2 separate regions of the Homo sapiens genome follow, and region 2 is linked to region 1. Evidence: promoter capture Hi-C in 16 types of primary human blood cells and fetal thymus (Javierre and others, 2016). All regions are on one chromosome and are shown on one strand. Each heading gives the region's core, a stretch centred on a gene start or on the middle of the fragment in contact. The rest is flanking DNA. Distances are from core to core; before and after follow the strand shown.

What was found. Contacts are between HindIII fragments. The CHiCAGO score rates a contact against its expected background, and 5 or more counts as called.
Region 2: a fragment that was not itself captured here is called in contact with the fragment with the promoter of KIAA1586 in region 1 in 1 of 17 cell types (total CD8 T cells); the score reaches 5.4 in total CD8 T cells.

The regions. Positions count from the first base shown.
Region 1 is chr6:57,043,908-57,050,859 of GRCh38, reverse strand. It overlaps KIAA1586, which reads right to left and starts at 4,167. Exons shown (of 4, transcript NM_020931.4): 1 at 4,084-4,167; 2 at 3,464-3,547; 3 at 6-86. The coding sequence starts at 4,104. RefSeq lists enhancers at 2,702-3,579, 4,396-4,485 and a silencer at 5,115-5,409. The HindIII fragment of the contact is 6,924 bases long and covers 1-4,685 here.
Region 2 is chr6:57,402,708-57,410,072 of GRCh38, reverse strand. All of the region lies in intron 7 of PRIM2 (DNA primase subunit 2), which reads right to left. Among named protein-coding and RNA genes, the nearest start is that of MIR548U, 16 kb to the right of the region's middle. The HindIII fragment of the contact is 4,227 bases long and covers 1-3,399 here.

The sequences.
Region 1 (6,952 bases), core at 2,918-5,417:
CTTACATCACTATAATAGGCGCTAGGGTTTTCATCATCACCACAGACCAGATCGATGTATTCAAGAACAGGTCTCGATGGTCCTTCCTAAAAAGGAAGTGGGCAAATTTACAAGTCATGAACAATCATTCCAATTAAACTTAAATTTAACAATCAGTGGGAGATTTTTTTAGTTGGAATTGGGAAAGATTCTCGAGAAAATCTTGCAAGTGGCACAGAATAATTAGAAACAAAACGGGCAAAGGGGCTGGGAGCAGTGGCTCACACCTGTAATCCTAGCACACTGGGAGGCCAAGACAGGAGGATCACTTGAGCCCAGAAGTTCAAGATCAGCCTGGGCAACATAGTGAGACACCAACTCTACAAAAAAAAAAAATCAGATGGGTACGGTGGCTCACACCTGTAATCCCAGCTACTTGGGAGGCTGAGGTGAGAGGATCACTGGAGCCCAGGAAGTTGGGGCTACAGTGAGCTATAATTATGCCATTACACTCTAGCCTAGATAAAATTTAGAGCAAGACACTGTCTAAAAAAAAAAAAGAGGCATGGGAAAAGAGTCAGAGTACATGAATACGTAATACTGTTCCTGCTAGTAAAAAGGAAAAAAAAAAAAACATAATAATGACAAAACCCAAAGAGCCTAAATCTATATAGAGGAATAAAGCCATGTAGATTCCTTTCAAAATGGGAAATAGCACAGATATTGATTTAAAAAGATACAGATTTCAGTTAGGCACAGTGCCAGTCTCAGCTGCTCAGGAGGCTGAGGCAGGAGGATCACTTGAGCCCAGGAATTCAAGTCCAGCCTGGGCAACATAGTGAAAAACCCACCCCCTGGCCCTACCTCATTAAAAAAAAAAGATAACAGATTTCATAGTACAATTTTTTTTAACTGAAATGATTATCAGTAATCTCGAAGTTCTTTGATAACCCTGCTTTATCCTCCACATCACTGTACAGCCAAACATCAAACTCTGAGTCTTCTTGATCCTTTCTTTACATATACACTACCCTCATCATAGACCAGGCCATAAATGCCCTAGTCAAAATCCTAGATTTTATTCTGTAGGCAAAGGAATCAATAAATAACATCAAGATGGGAACATTATTAGAGCTGTTTCAAGAAGGTTAACCACATAAGAGAGCATGTGGGAAGAATACAAACAAGATAATCAATCTAGACAAATGGTAATGTGGTACAAAAATAGTGATGGCAAGGAGGAAGTAACCTTCCCTGTATAGGTACTATATTTCAATAAAATTTACATTAAGATAAGGACTCTTTTTGTATCCCCAAATCTTTTATCATTCCTTTCTTTCAGCATATTGTTTATTTTGGAGGCTAGGTACATGACAGAACACAAAGAGGATTCTGTGCCACAACGCAGAATGAAGGCTAGATAATCAACATTTATATGAAAAGACTAAGGAATCCAAACCAGAATATATCAAGAAGTAACAAACTTTTTTTTCTTTTAATCTGAAGAACCCACAAGCAGAGAACTATACCCAGCAGCATTGCATCTTTACTGGATGGTACTATAAAAAACACAGAGAAATAAGCATATCCTGGTAGAGCCCAGTATAGGATGGGGTTACAAAGGAAAGTTGTCTCTGAGTGTATTTCAAAGTGGAATTAAGTTATCATTGTCTTTTATGTGGCACCACTGAAATGCAACAGGGATGTTTTACTACATTCTTTCTGGTACTGCAATTACACTGACAGCATGTAATTCACTTCTCCATATAAGAGCTGTCAAACCTTTGATCTTCTATTTTGAACAGGGTTAAATATAAAGGGTTCTATCACGCTGGATATACAAAATATTGTATGAAAAGATGTAGAAGGATCTTTATATTTAAAATAAAATTTAAAGTAAGAGTTTTAAACCTCAGCTAAACACAGCCTATATATTAACTCACAATTTAAAATATAATGATTTATTCCTCAGGATATTACACAAATCTATACCTATTTACTTTTCCAAACTTAATTTTGTACATCCCATCTGTGTTTCTCAACGGCACATGGATCATGAATCAGACGTATGTCACTTCTACATACTTTCTCAATGGCACATGGATCATCAATCAGACGTGTGTCACTTCTACATACAGATGCACAAAAAACTCATCAAGATCATCTGTCCCAATCATTCCTGTTTTTATACCAGTTAAGAGGAAACCAAAATTATTTTTCCTAAAGACCCATGAACTCCTCTTCCCAAATGTTTCTCGTTACAAAAACAGAAACCATTGCTCTTTGATTTCAAGTTACGTTGCTTACTCCATAACAACAGTGAAGGCAGAGTCAGCATACAATCTCCCTTGGTATCATCAATATTTAGAAAGGTTCCAAATGTCAGGAACAAAATATACACACACTATTAATTGGGAAATATGTCCAGAAAGTGACAGGGTAAAGAACTTATACACAAAACACGAAAAACAAACAACGATGTTAACAAAACAATGTTTAGGGAGGAAATTTTAATTTAAAAAACAAGTGACTTACAAAGTCGCCCTAAACCTACAAAAACTAAAAAACACAGAAACATTAGACAGACACTCCATTAAAGAAAAATTCTACAGCCTGAATACCAAACTGCAACTAACTACGGCATTCCAAAAGACGAGTTGGGGACAGAACTGTTTTCTGCCTGGCGAGCTGAGATACCACTTTACGCAAAGCCTTTCTAAAACTCCAACAATTATGGATGAAAATCACCCCAAAATATATCATAAAACACTCCCTTCTGCTTTAGAAACCCATTCTGTCCAAAGTGTGCTCAGAAATCCTTATGTCCCTGCACTTGTCTGAAAATGAAGATTCCTAGGCCCCCGCCTGGAAATTCTGATTCGGTAGGTCTGCAGTGGGGCCCAGGAATCTGCCTGTTTATACTTACTAAGGCTTGAAAACTACTGTCTCAAAGGGAACAAACTCAGAAAAATAGAGCATGTTCCCAGTGATGTAGGATTCTTCATTATGAGCATCAACTGTACTATGCCGTAACATGATGATCTCAGAGGTTAGAGAAATCTTCAAGCTATTTGCCTTCATGTTAGAAGCACCATAACGCTAAGATTCTGGGCTCTCACAACCCTTCCTGTTTTCTACGTCCTTGCTCATCATTAGCAGCTCCTTCCTCCGTGTCGCCTTTAGAAGTTACTCTTGCTCCATTTCAAAACAGCGTTTTAGACACCAGCGTTTTTATCTTAAGTTTAAATGAAAGGCAGGGGGCGAGATTAAGTGTACAGCACGTTCTTTAGGACGTGCTCTTTGTGATGGCTACGGGGGTGGCTCAGATAGCTCTTTTGGTAAATTTCCCAATCCTGCGCCATGCTCCAGTGTCTAGTATGTATTAGACACTCATGAACATTAAATGACCAGGTGAGGTAACATTACATAATGGCCCACCATAGTCTTTTACTCTGGGAAAACCCCAATCATCATTGCTACTTACACTGACAAACTGAATGTCGTCTTCATTTTCATCCGTTGTTGACTCAGATGCCTCAGGGCCAGCTGGAGGGACAGATTCTATTATCTATAAAAACAAGCCAAAACATGCTTATCTGTTCAGCCACATTCGTGTAGGAAGAGAGCGTTTCCGAAAGGAACAATTAAAGACAGAGAGCTCTTGAGGAAAACGAACTGAGCACAATTTCACGGAAACCCGACTAGGAACGGAACTCGAGCTCTGGCTCTTGCCACAGAGTGTGCGGAGCTGCAGGGACCCAACGCTGAAAACGCGTTAGTTACCAGCCTCTCACAATTCCCCTTATCTACTCCAGGAGGAACGCAAGCTCAACACCGAAGGGCAATCCTGCCTTAAAACGTCGCTCCCACTGGCCCAGCCGCGGCCACAACGAACGCCAGGGCCCGTGCGGGGGGCCGGGCGGCCATTGTTGCTGCGGGTTCCTCGCTCAGACACGCACCAGGCCCCAGAGCTGGGCTCGGCCCAAGACACTGAAGAGGTATCGCCCCGAGGCTGCGACGGAGCACCAGGCCTCAGACCGCAGAAAACACAAACCCTTCGCGGTTCGCCTCTGAGAACGCCAGGACCCTCACTCGACTACTCACTTCCGACCCCGGGTCTCCCATGTCTCCGACGGCCGCGCTGACAGCACCACTGCTCCTGCTGTCCCTACTGCCGCAGCCGCCACCACTCCCCTTCCCGCCCTGCACCGCCTCGCGCTACCGGGACCCGCCCCTGCGTGAGCTGGGAGGCCACTGGCGGAAAGAGACGAAAACCGCTTCAAAAGAGGGGCAGCCCTCACTGGTCCGCTATCTCCCCGGAGCCTCTTTCTCTCATTCCCGGGCTTCCTTCCCCGCGCCGCAGAGGATGCTGGGATGGTAGTTCCTACCCGCCGCGCGACCGCGCCGCGCGACTGCCCCGCGCGTGGGTGAAGAATGGAAAAAGACTCTGAGCTACAGCGAAGTCGTCTCCCTTCGGTGTTGCTCTACTATAATAAAATAGCCGAGTTCTTTCTCTCACTTTTTCACAACCAAATATTCGTCTATGTAATAGATCAATGGGAATGAAAAAAAATTGTGTGTGATTTGCTCAGAAATTGCCTTACCAAAATCGTGGCTCACCTTTTTATTTTAACATTTATTCACAAATGATTTTAAACATGAAATTTATGAAAGCAAATTTTAACAGAGAATATTCTTTTAAAGCTTTTATTTGTTTACCTCTATCAGCCTAGGACCACCTGTTATTGACAAGTCTGTAGTCCCAGAAAATCACCTTTATCATTTTGACCCTGATCTACAATGCACAAAATTATACAACAAAGGAGCTATGAGGTATCTGATTAGCCAACTGATCTTCAGCAAAGCAAACAAAAACATAAAGTGGGGAAAGGACACCCTTTTCAACAAATGGTGCTGGGATAATTGGTGACCCACATGTAGAAGAATTAAACTGGATCCTCATCTCTCACCTTATACAAAAATCAACTCAAGATGCATCAAAGACTTAAATCTAAGACCCGAAGTCATAAAAATTGCTCAAGATAACACCGGAAAAATACCTTCTAGACATTGGCTTAGGCAAAGACTTCGCGATGAAGAACCCAAAAGCAAATGCAACAGAAACAAAGATAAATAGACTGAACTTAATTAAACTAAAAAGCTTCTGCACAGCAAAAAAAATAATCAGCAGAGTAAACAGACAACCCACAAAGTGGGAGAAAAGGAGAACATAGGAACAAAGGAAAACATAGACTTACTAGGATTTTAAGGAGTTGGTGAAATTTAAGTGAAGCAGTGTTTTGATAGGTTCAAAACCGTCTAGTGCTGTGTGTAAAGGGTTCAACATCACATACGGACTGCATAGCGAGCCCAGGGTCTTGTTAACTTCAAAACTACAAAGTTAACACACACAGAGTATTGTGCTCAGAAACCCCTTCCTCCGTGTAGCCATGCCCTAAGTGTGTGGATTTATTTCTGGGTACTGTATTCTGTTCCATTTGTCTGTGTGTCTGTTTTTATACCAGTACCATGCTGTTTTGGTTACTATAGCTCTGTAGTAGAATTTGAAGTCATGTAATGTGATTCCTCCAGTTTTGTTCTTTTTGCTCAGGTTAGCTTTTGCTATTATTCTCGGTCTTTTGTGGTTCCACATAAATTTTAGAATTGTTTATTCTGCTTCTGTGAAGAATGTCATTGGTATTTTGATGGGGATTGGATTCAATCTGTAGATTGTTTTGGGTAGTATGGGTAGTATGGACATTTTTTAAAAATAAAAATGTATTTTTTATTTCAATAGGTTTTTAGGAAGCAGGTGGTGTTTGGTTACATGCATAAGTTCTTTAGTGGTGGTTTCTGAGATTTTGGTGCACCCATAACCCAAGCAGTGTATCCTGTACCCGATGTCTTTAATCCCTCACCCCCTCCCACCCTTTCCCGAGTCCCTGAAGTCCTATGTGTCATTCTTATGCCTTTGTGTCCTCATAGCTTAGCTTCCACTTATCAGTGAGAACATACAACATTTGGTTTTCCATTCCTGAGTTACATCACTTAGAATAATAGTCTCCAGTTCCATCCAGATTGCTGTGAATACCAGTATTTGCTCCTTTTTATGGCTGAGTACTATTCCATTGTGTGTGTGTGTGTGTGTGTGTGTGTATGTATGTGTATATACACCATTTTCTTTATCCTCTTGTTGATTGATGGGCATTTAGGCTGGTTCTATATTTTTGCAATTACGAATTATGCTCCTATAAATATGCATGTGCAAGGATCTTTTTTGTATAATGACTTATTTTTCTGTGGTTATTCCTCTTCCTAGTAGTCAGATTGCTGGATCAAATGGTAGATCTACTTTTAGTTCTTTAAGGAATATCCACACTGTTTTCCATAATGGTTGTACTAGTTTACATTTCCACTAACAGTGTAAAAGTGTTCTCTTTTCACCACATCCATGCCAACGTCTATTATTTTTTGATGTTTTGATTATGGCCATTCTTGCAGGAGTAAGGTAGATTTGCAGTGTAGTTTTGATTTACATTTTCCTGATAATTAGCTGTGTTGAGCATTTTTTCCATATGTTTGTTGGCCATTTGCATATCTTCTTTTGAGAGTTGTCTATTCATGTCCTAAGCCCACTTTTTGATGGGGTTGTTTTTTTTTTTCTTGCTGATTTGTTTGAGTTCTTTGTAGATTCTGGATATTAGTCCTTTGTCAGATGTATAGATTGTGAAGATTTTCTCCCAGTCTGTGGGTTGTCTGTTAACTCTGCTGATTTTTTCTTTTGCTGTGCAGAAGCTTTTTAGTTTAATTAAGTCCTGTCTATCTTTGTTTCTGTTGCATTTGCTTTTGGGTTCTTGGTCATGAAATCTTTGCCTAAGCCAATGTCTAGGTTTTTTCCGGTGTTATCTTGTACAATTTTTATGGTTTCAGGTCTTAGATTTAAGTCTTCGATGCATCTTGAGTTGATTTTTGT
Region 2 (7,365 bases), core at 37-2,536, 360 kb before region 1:
TGCTGGGATTACAGGCGTGAGCCACTGGCCCGGCCCAGTCTTTTCTACTAATAGTGCCAAAACCAACAAGGAAACCAACAAGGAAAAAAAAATCAACATGTCTAAAACCTAACCAAAACATGGGTCATAGAGTTAAATACAAGAGCTAAAACTATAAAATTTCAAAAAGATAATACAGGAAAAATTCTTCATGCTCTTGGGTCAGTTGAATACTTCTTAATAAAAGTAAACCATAAAAGAAAGAAACTGATAAAATAGACTGAATCAAATTGTAAAACTTTGTTGCTCTTCAAAAGACATTGTTAAAACAAAAGGCAAACCACAGACTGGGACAAAATATTTGCAACACACACACATATTCAAGATATGGAAATTAAAAGCACAATGAGATATCATCATACATCCATTAGAATGATTAAAATTTAAAACTGACAATATCAACTTTTGGCAAGGTGGTAGAATAACTGGAACACATACACTACTGGAGATGAACATATCTATCCACTTTGGAAATAGTTTGGCAATTTCTCATAAAGTTAAACATACTTTAAACATATTTATTGGTCAGCCCAGCAATCCTCCTTAAAAGTATTTATCCAGGCCAGGAGCAGTGGCTCACACCTGTAATCCCAGCACTTTGGGAGGCCAAGGAGGGCGATCACGAGGTCAGGAGATTGAGACCATCCTGGCTAACACGGTGAAACCCTGCCTCTACTAAAAATACAAAAAAATTAGCCGGTGCGGTGGTGGGCACCTGTAGTCCCAGCTACTTGGGAGGCCGAGGCAGAAGAATGGCGTGAACCCGAGAGGCAGAGCTTGCAGTGAGCCAAGATCGTGCTAGTGTACTCCAGCCTGGGCGACAGAGCGAGACTCCATCTCGAAAAAAAAAAAAAGTATTTATCCAAATATTCACAGCAGTTTTATTCATAATAGCCAAGAACTGGAAACAATCTAAATGTCCATCAAGTGGACATTTGAATTGGGGACTAGATAAACAAATTGTGGTATATTCATACAATGGAATACTACCTAACAATTAAAAAGAATGGAAAAAATGTTTTAAATTAAAAAAATAAAAGAATAGAAGAATGAATTACCAATACATGAAACAACATAGATGAGGCTGAGATGGGAGGAGTTTGAGACCAGTCTGGGAAACACAGCGAGACCCTGTCTCTACAAAAAATTTTACAAATTAGCCAGGTGTACTGGTATGCACCTATAATCCTAGCTACTTGGGAGGTTGAGGCAGGAAGGTCCCATGAGCCAGGAGATCAAGGTTGCAATGAGCTATGATTTCACCACAGCATTCCAGTTTGGGTGACAGAGTAAGACCCTACCTCTAAAAACAACAACAACATAGATGAATGTCGAAAGCACAATGCAGATCAACAAAAGCCAAATGCAGAAGAATACATAGTGTATGATTCAATTTACACGGAATTCTAAAACAAACAAAATTATCATGACAGAAACAGATGAGTGTTTGCCCAGGGCCAGGGGTGGAGGGAGGAAATTAAATGCTAAAGGCTATTTATTGTACAAAAGCACAATAAAATCTTCTGATTTGTCAATTTACTCCCCCAACAAATCTACTTTCTCATGGCATTTATTATGCATTTATTATGTGGGTGGCTATGTGAATGACATGCCTGGTCAAACCAATCACCTGAGCCATATGCAAATCAGACACCGTCTCCTCCAGCCTCTTCATATACCTGGCAGGTTTCCACCACACTGGGGGTCTCTTCTCTCAGCTTTGGAGCCCCCTCTCCCTCTGGCTCTGTAAAGGGGCGCTTCTTGCTTCTTTCTTCTCCCTTCTGTCTTGCCTATTAAACTCTCCGCTCCTTAAAACCACTCCACATGCACCCATGTCATCTTATCTAATTGGGCATGAGACAAGAGCCCTGGTGTTCTTCCACTCATCGAAGCCATATCACAATGATTGGCACATTTATGCTCACCAACACGTATCCAAAGTGGGGAAAAAAAAGGAATATTTGTGCCTGCTTCCCACAAAGGGGGAGAGTAACATCATTAAAGATCACGAGCATAAAAATTACAGATACAGGTACATTGGCTTAGAATTCTGTGACCTTGGATAAGTTACCCAACCTTCCCAAGTTTCCCTCTCTGCAAAATTCATGCAAATAACCATCTCATAACGTTGCCAACAGGGTTAAATTGAGAACACATATAATACATCTAATTGTGTCTGGTACACAGTATGTGCTTATTAAAAAATTAGAAACCTGCCTTCACCACCACTACCACCACCATCATCATCCAGCAAGCCAATTCTTTAACTAATCAGTTCAGAGGCTCTTGACCTCAAAAGAATGATTTAATGCCACATGAAATTGAAGGAGAAAATACACAGTTTCAAATTCTCTTTTTCTCCCTGCTCTTCACCCCATGTGGGTGTGCCACTGTGTACCGCCTCAGGCCTAACCCGCAATATGCAAATGATACGTATTTGAAGGATAAATAAATTCCTTAGGCAAAGTGCTAAAAAATAACAGTGGAGGCTGCTCAGCCTATAAAGTAGCCATTCTTTATTCCTTTACTTTCCTAATAAACTTGCTTTCACACACACACAAAAAAAAAACCCACACTGGAAACATAAAACAATGAAGCCATTTAAGTGAAAAAAAAAATCTGTGACTTTCAGTATGTCATTTTTTCAGCCATCTACAAGAAGTACAGATTATTTCCTTCTTAATATTTTGAACAAAATTCAAATATAGTCCAAAGGATTAATGAAAATATACTTACAAAACTTTAAGCTACTTAGAAGAAAAGATTATAAATGCAAATTGTTATTCTCTTTCTTTGAGATTATAGTTGCCCCGCCAAAATCCAAAAAGGTATATTCATTTTTTCCTCAAAGATTGAACATTATTTCATTTCCTTTCCATTATTTTAGCCTTTAATAGTCAATGTTATAACTGTGGAGTTTTTGATGACACAGTTAAAGAAGATAACATTCGGGTTACCAATCTTGTTTACCATTCTTTTGTTTCAAATTTATAAGCAAGTAATCTGTCTTCTATATCTTTTTCCAGGTTCAGTTATCTGTTTTCTAGATCATTACCTTATTCACACCTCAATTTAGTAAACTCAATGACACTGTTCACCTGGCTGTTTTGCAACTCAACAAATACAATCTTATACATGAACAAAATCATAGTGCCACAAGGGACAACCGCAACCAGAGCATAAGTACTTTCCATGATATTTCTGAAGTCTCATAACTGTATGTTAGGTCTCTCTTTTAAAATGTAGGCATGAAAAATATAAAATTATTAAAAATAAGATTTTATACAAAACAGCAAGAGTCTCATAAAACATTTCCTTCTACTCTTAGTACCCCTTTAAAATTTTAAGGGAAACCAAGCTTGTTATTCTCAATTCTCTCATTCCTTGGTTATTTCCAATCAACTAGTCTCAGACGATTTTCATTTTTTGTTTTTATTTTTTATTTGAACTTACACATTACTCTCCTAGAACTTGTTGGGTAACATTTTCTGCACCACTCCAATTTTAGTATATATACTGCCTACTTAAGTTCACAGGGTTCTCTCTGTCACTCGGATAAAGATGGAAAAGCCTTATTAAGATTTTCATTTCTGAGACACAAGACTCTCAATGCATGTAAATCAGAAGATGGATTCTGTACTCCTTGACAAATTCCTAAACGTATATGTGCAATTAAACAGACAAGCAGTGAAAATTGAAGGTACAGAATTAGAAACCATGGACGGTACTCATCTGTCTGAATGGAGCAGGCAGGAAGATAGATGTCAAGCCTCATTATCAGCAAGGGTATGGACAAGGAAGAAATGAGAGAACTTAAAAAATTTAAGAAGGAAAAAAAAAGCAGTGGTCTTACTCCCCACTCCCTACTCCCTAAAAAAGACAAGGTCAAGGGAATGCTTACATCTAAGAGAGAGCCTTGCAAAATCCAGCTCAGACCTGACGTCTCTGAAGCTCTCTCTGCAATCCCCAGACAAGTCCATCACTCTATTTTCTGTGCTGCCTCTTTACCTGGTACAGACTTCTCTTTTTATTGACCACACATATGATGACTGTTTATATGTCTCCCTGCTTACTCTGAACTGATTTTAGTTGAAGAATTGGCTTGCTGGGTGATGATGATGATGGTGGTACTGATGATGAAGGCAGGTTTCTAATTTTTTAATAAGCATATACTGTGTACCAGACACAATTAAATTTCTCATATATGTTCTCAATTTAATCTGTTGGCTGCCACCTCTCACACATACTAGGCACCCTGAAAGCTTAAACATACCTATGTCTCCCATGTTTTTGCCTGGCACATAGTGGCTACTCAGGAAAAGTTACTTAAAGGTTATACTACTATGACAAAAATAAATGGCAATCAGTTATAAAAGAAAGTTAAACCACACACTTCTTTTTAACATTTATTCTTGCTCTGGCACATAATTATTAAGCATCACAGGTAAAAATCCAGAGCTGGGTAATTTAATATAGGATGTGGCCAATCCTATTACTATGAGAAAGTTAGTTTAATTAATACAGTATTTTACTTTGGTTTAAATTCCTATGTGTCATGTGTATGTGTTTGCATATGTTTCTCTCTTGTTCTTGCTCTTTCTCTCATTAATGATGAATCAGAAAATTTTGAGAAAACTGAAACTCAAAGGCATATACATAATCATTACTTTACAATGTCCAGTCACTGTTAAAAATTACACTCTCAGCACTTTATCAACCCTGTAACATTTACATATGCCCAGCTCCCCTGTGCAAAATTTCTAAATTGGAAAACTAACAGGTGATGCATCTTTCTTTGTAGTGACCGAAGAAATTTTTGCTGTATGAGAGTAGACGTGTCAAAGAACTGAATTTACAAGTACCCCTCCCCACCAAAAAAAAAAACTATTTCAGTATTCAGCTGTTTCCTAGCAACTGAATCTGCTGATACTTTCTCATCACAAGTAGGCATAGGGATAAAATCTGTGTTTCAGTGCATTCAGGTGTCAATGAAAGCAACACAGCTCAGTGAAAAAAAAAAGGATAAATAATGTATAAAAATATTAAGTATTTTCTAGCCAATCTAGGCTGAAGCTTTTAAAATGGGTAATTATAATTCTTAAGTATGATAAATGATCTGGAAAATTAGAGTTTATTATAAAAAGTATAGGGGGTCTGATCTTTTCCATGAATGAGGAAAGAGAAAAAAATCCACAAAGGTGACCACAAAAATAGCAACCCAAGGATTACTCTGGAGAGTTCAACCATGAAGAAGGAAGCTGCTCCTTGCAAGGTAGCTAGACTTTAAACCTGGTTTATGCTGCATCATAAATTTTGAAGCAAAATATAAAATTCACATCTTACATACTGCAGAGAAAAACTGTCCAGTGAATAACAGCTTGAACTACTGCAGCCAACTGCAACAGTTCTTCAGGAGTTTTCCGAGTTCATAAACATTTGCAATTGGGATTTCAGAAATATTCTGCATGTACAGCACTTCACACATATTATCAGGTATACAGTTTAATCTTTGCTTTTATAAACAGTACACTGAGGTGCAACCCCAAGTTACTTTAGTTTTCTCAACAAATCAAGAGTATGCAAACATGCAGCTCTCACAAGGTAATTCATCAGATCCTGAGCATCTACTCCATAAGGCATTGTGCTGGGTATCAGAGATCACTAAGTTGAATATAACACAATCTGTACCCTGGAGCTGCTGAAGTATTTAAAATATGCAATGGAAACACCTGCTTGAGGGTAAATCAGAGAAAGCAGGAGAGGCAACAAACTATAGTAGAACAGGCAATGAACTTGAGTTTCGAGAGACATATAGCAAAAGACCCAGGTCTTTCACTAATGAGCAATGTGAGTTCTTGCAGGCCGCTCAACCTTTCTGAGGCTAGACGTTCATGGGCAAAATGAAGAGGCCTGCTTGGTAAGTTTTATAGACAGCCTCTTAGAAAACACTTTGCTAAGTACTACCATGAATAATAGAACAAGCAAATATATCCATTGGCCTTTGAGAGGTAATAAGGTCATGAGAGTTTGCTGCTTCTTTCTCTGCTCTCAACCATTTGAAGATACAATGAGAAGACAGCCATCTGCAAACCAGGAAGCAGGCCCCCACCAGCCTCCAAAATGATGACAAAAGTCTGTTGTTGATGTTGCCCAGTCTGTGATAATTTGTTACAGCAGCCCAAACTAAGACAATATCTATAAGCCTACAGTTTTTTATAGTCTACTTGCCAAGGAAGAGGGCAAGATAGCACACAAATAATTACTACACAAACTCTAAAATGCTTTCCTCCTCTAAAAATTATTTCTATATGATAAAATTTACTGGCAACTAGAAAACAAAGAAAACTTGAAATGAGAGAATCATTAAAATTCTTGCCAATATTTTCCATAATTATGAAACACAGAACTGTGCAAAGCACTATAGAGAGAAATAAAAGGAAAATCCAAAACTTCTTAAAATATTCTTCACATGGGCCAGGCGCGGTGGCTTACATCTTTAATCTCAGCATTTTGGGAGGCCATGGCAGATGCACCATGAGGTCAGGAGATTGAGACCATCCTGGCTAACATGGTGAAACCCCGTCTCTACTAAAAAATACAAAAAAAAAAATTAGCCGGGTGTGATGGCAGGCGCCTGTAGTCCCAGCTACTAGGGAGGCTGAGGCAGGAGAATGGTGTGAACCCGGGAGGCAGAGCTTGCAGTGAGCCGAGTTCGCGCCACTGCACTCCAGCCTGGGCAACAGAGCGAGACTGGATCTCCAAAAAAAAAAAAAAAAAAAAAAAATTCTTCACCTGAACTATCCCTTCAAAGAAACACCTAATATACACAGCACTTTGGAATTTTCAAAAAACTTTCATATACAATACTGACTTCTGTAATGAATGAAACCAGTTCTATCAAAAACCTAAAATATTTCACTAAAACAAGAAAATAACTTTTATCCAATACTATTCCATGAATATTGCCAATAGCTTTGTTTTTCTAAAATAAAATTATGTGTGTATATATAATGTGTAATTTTTCTGTACATACATATACATATGGAGAAAAACATGAAGATGTTTCATATCCCTATTGCTAAAACACATCTCCAACAATAACACCAGTAGCTGACAATGATTCTAAACTGGATATGTGCAAGAGGAACTACTGAGGTGGGGAAAGAAATTACTAATATGTATTTCTATTTTTCTCCTTTTTAAAACCCCCATTTTATATTGCCTACATCTGTGGGCAGGGGTAATATTTTAACTGAGGGGACACAATCAAAAGTTTAGAAACCACCAGCACACACACTAAAATTCAAACTCATAAGCTTGGTAATA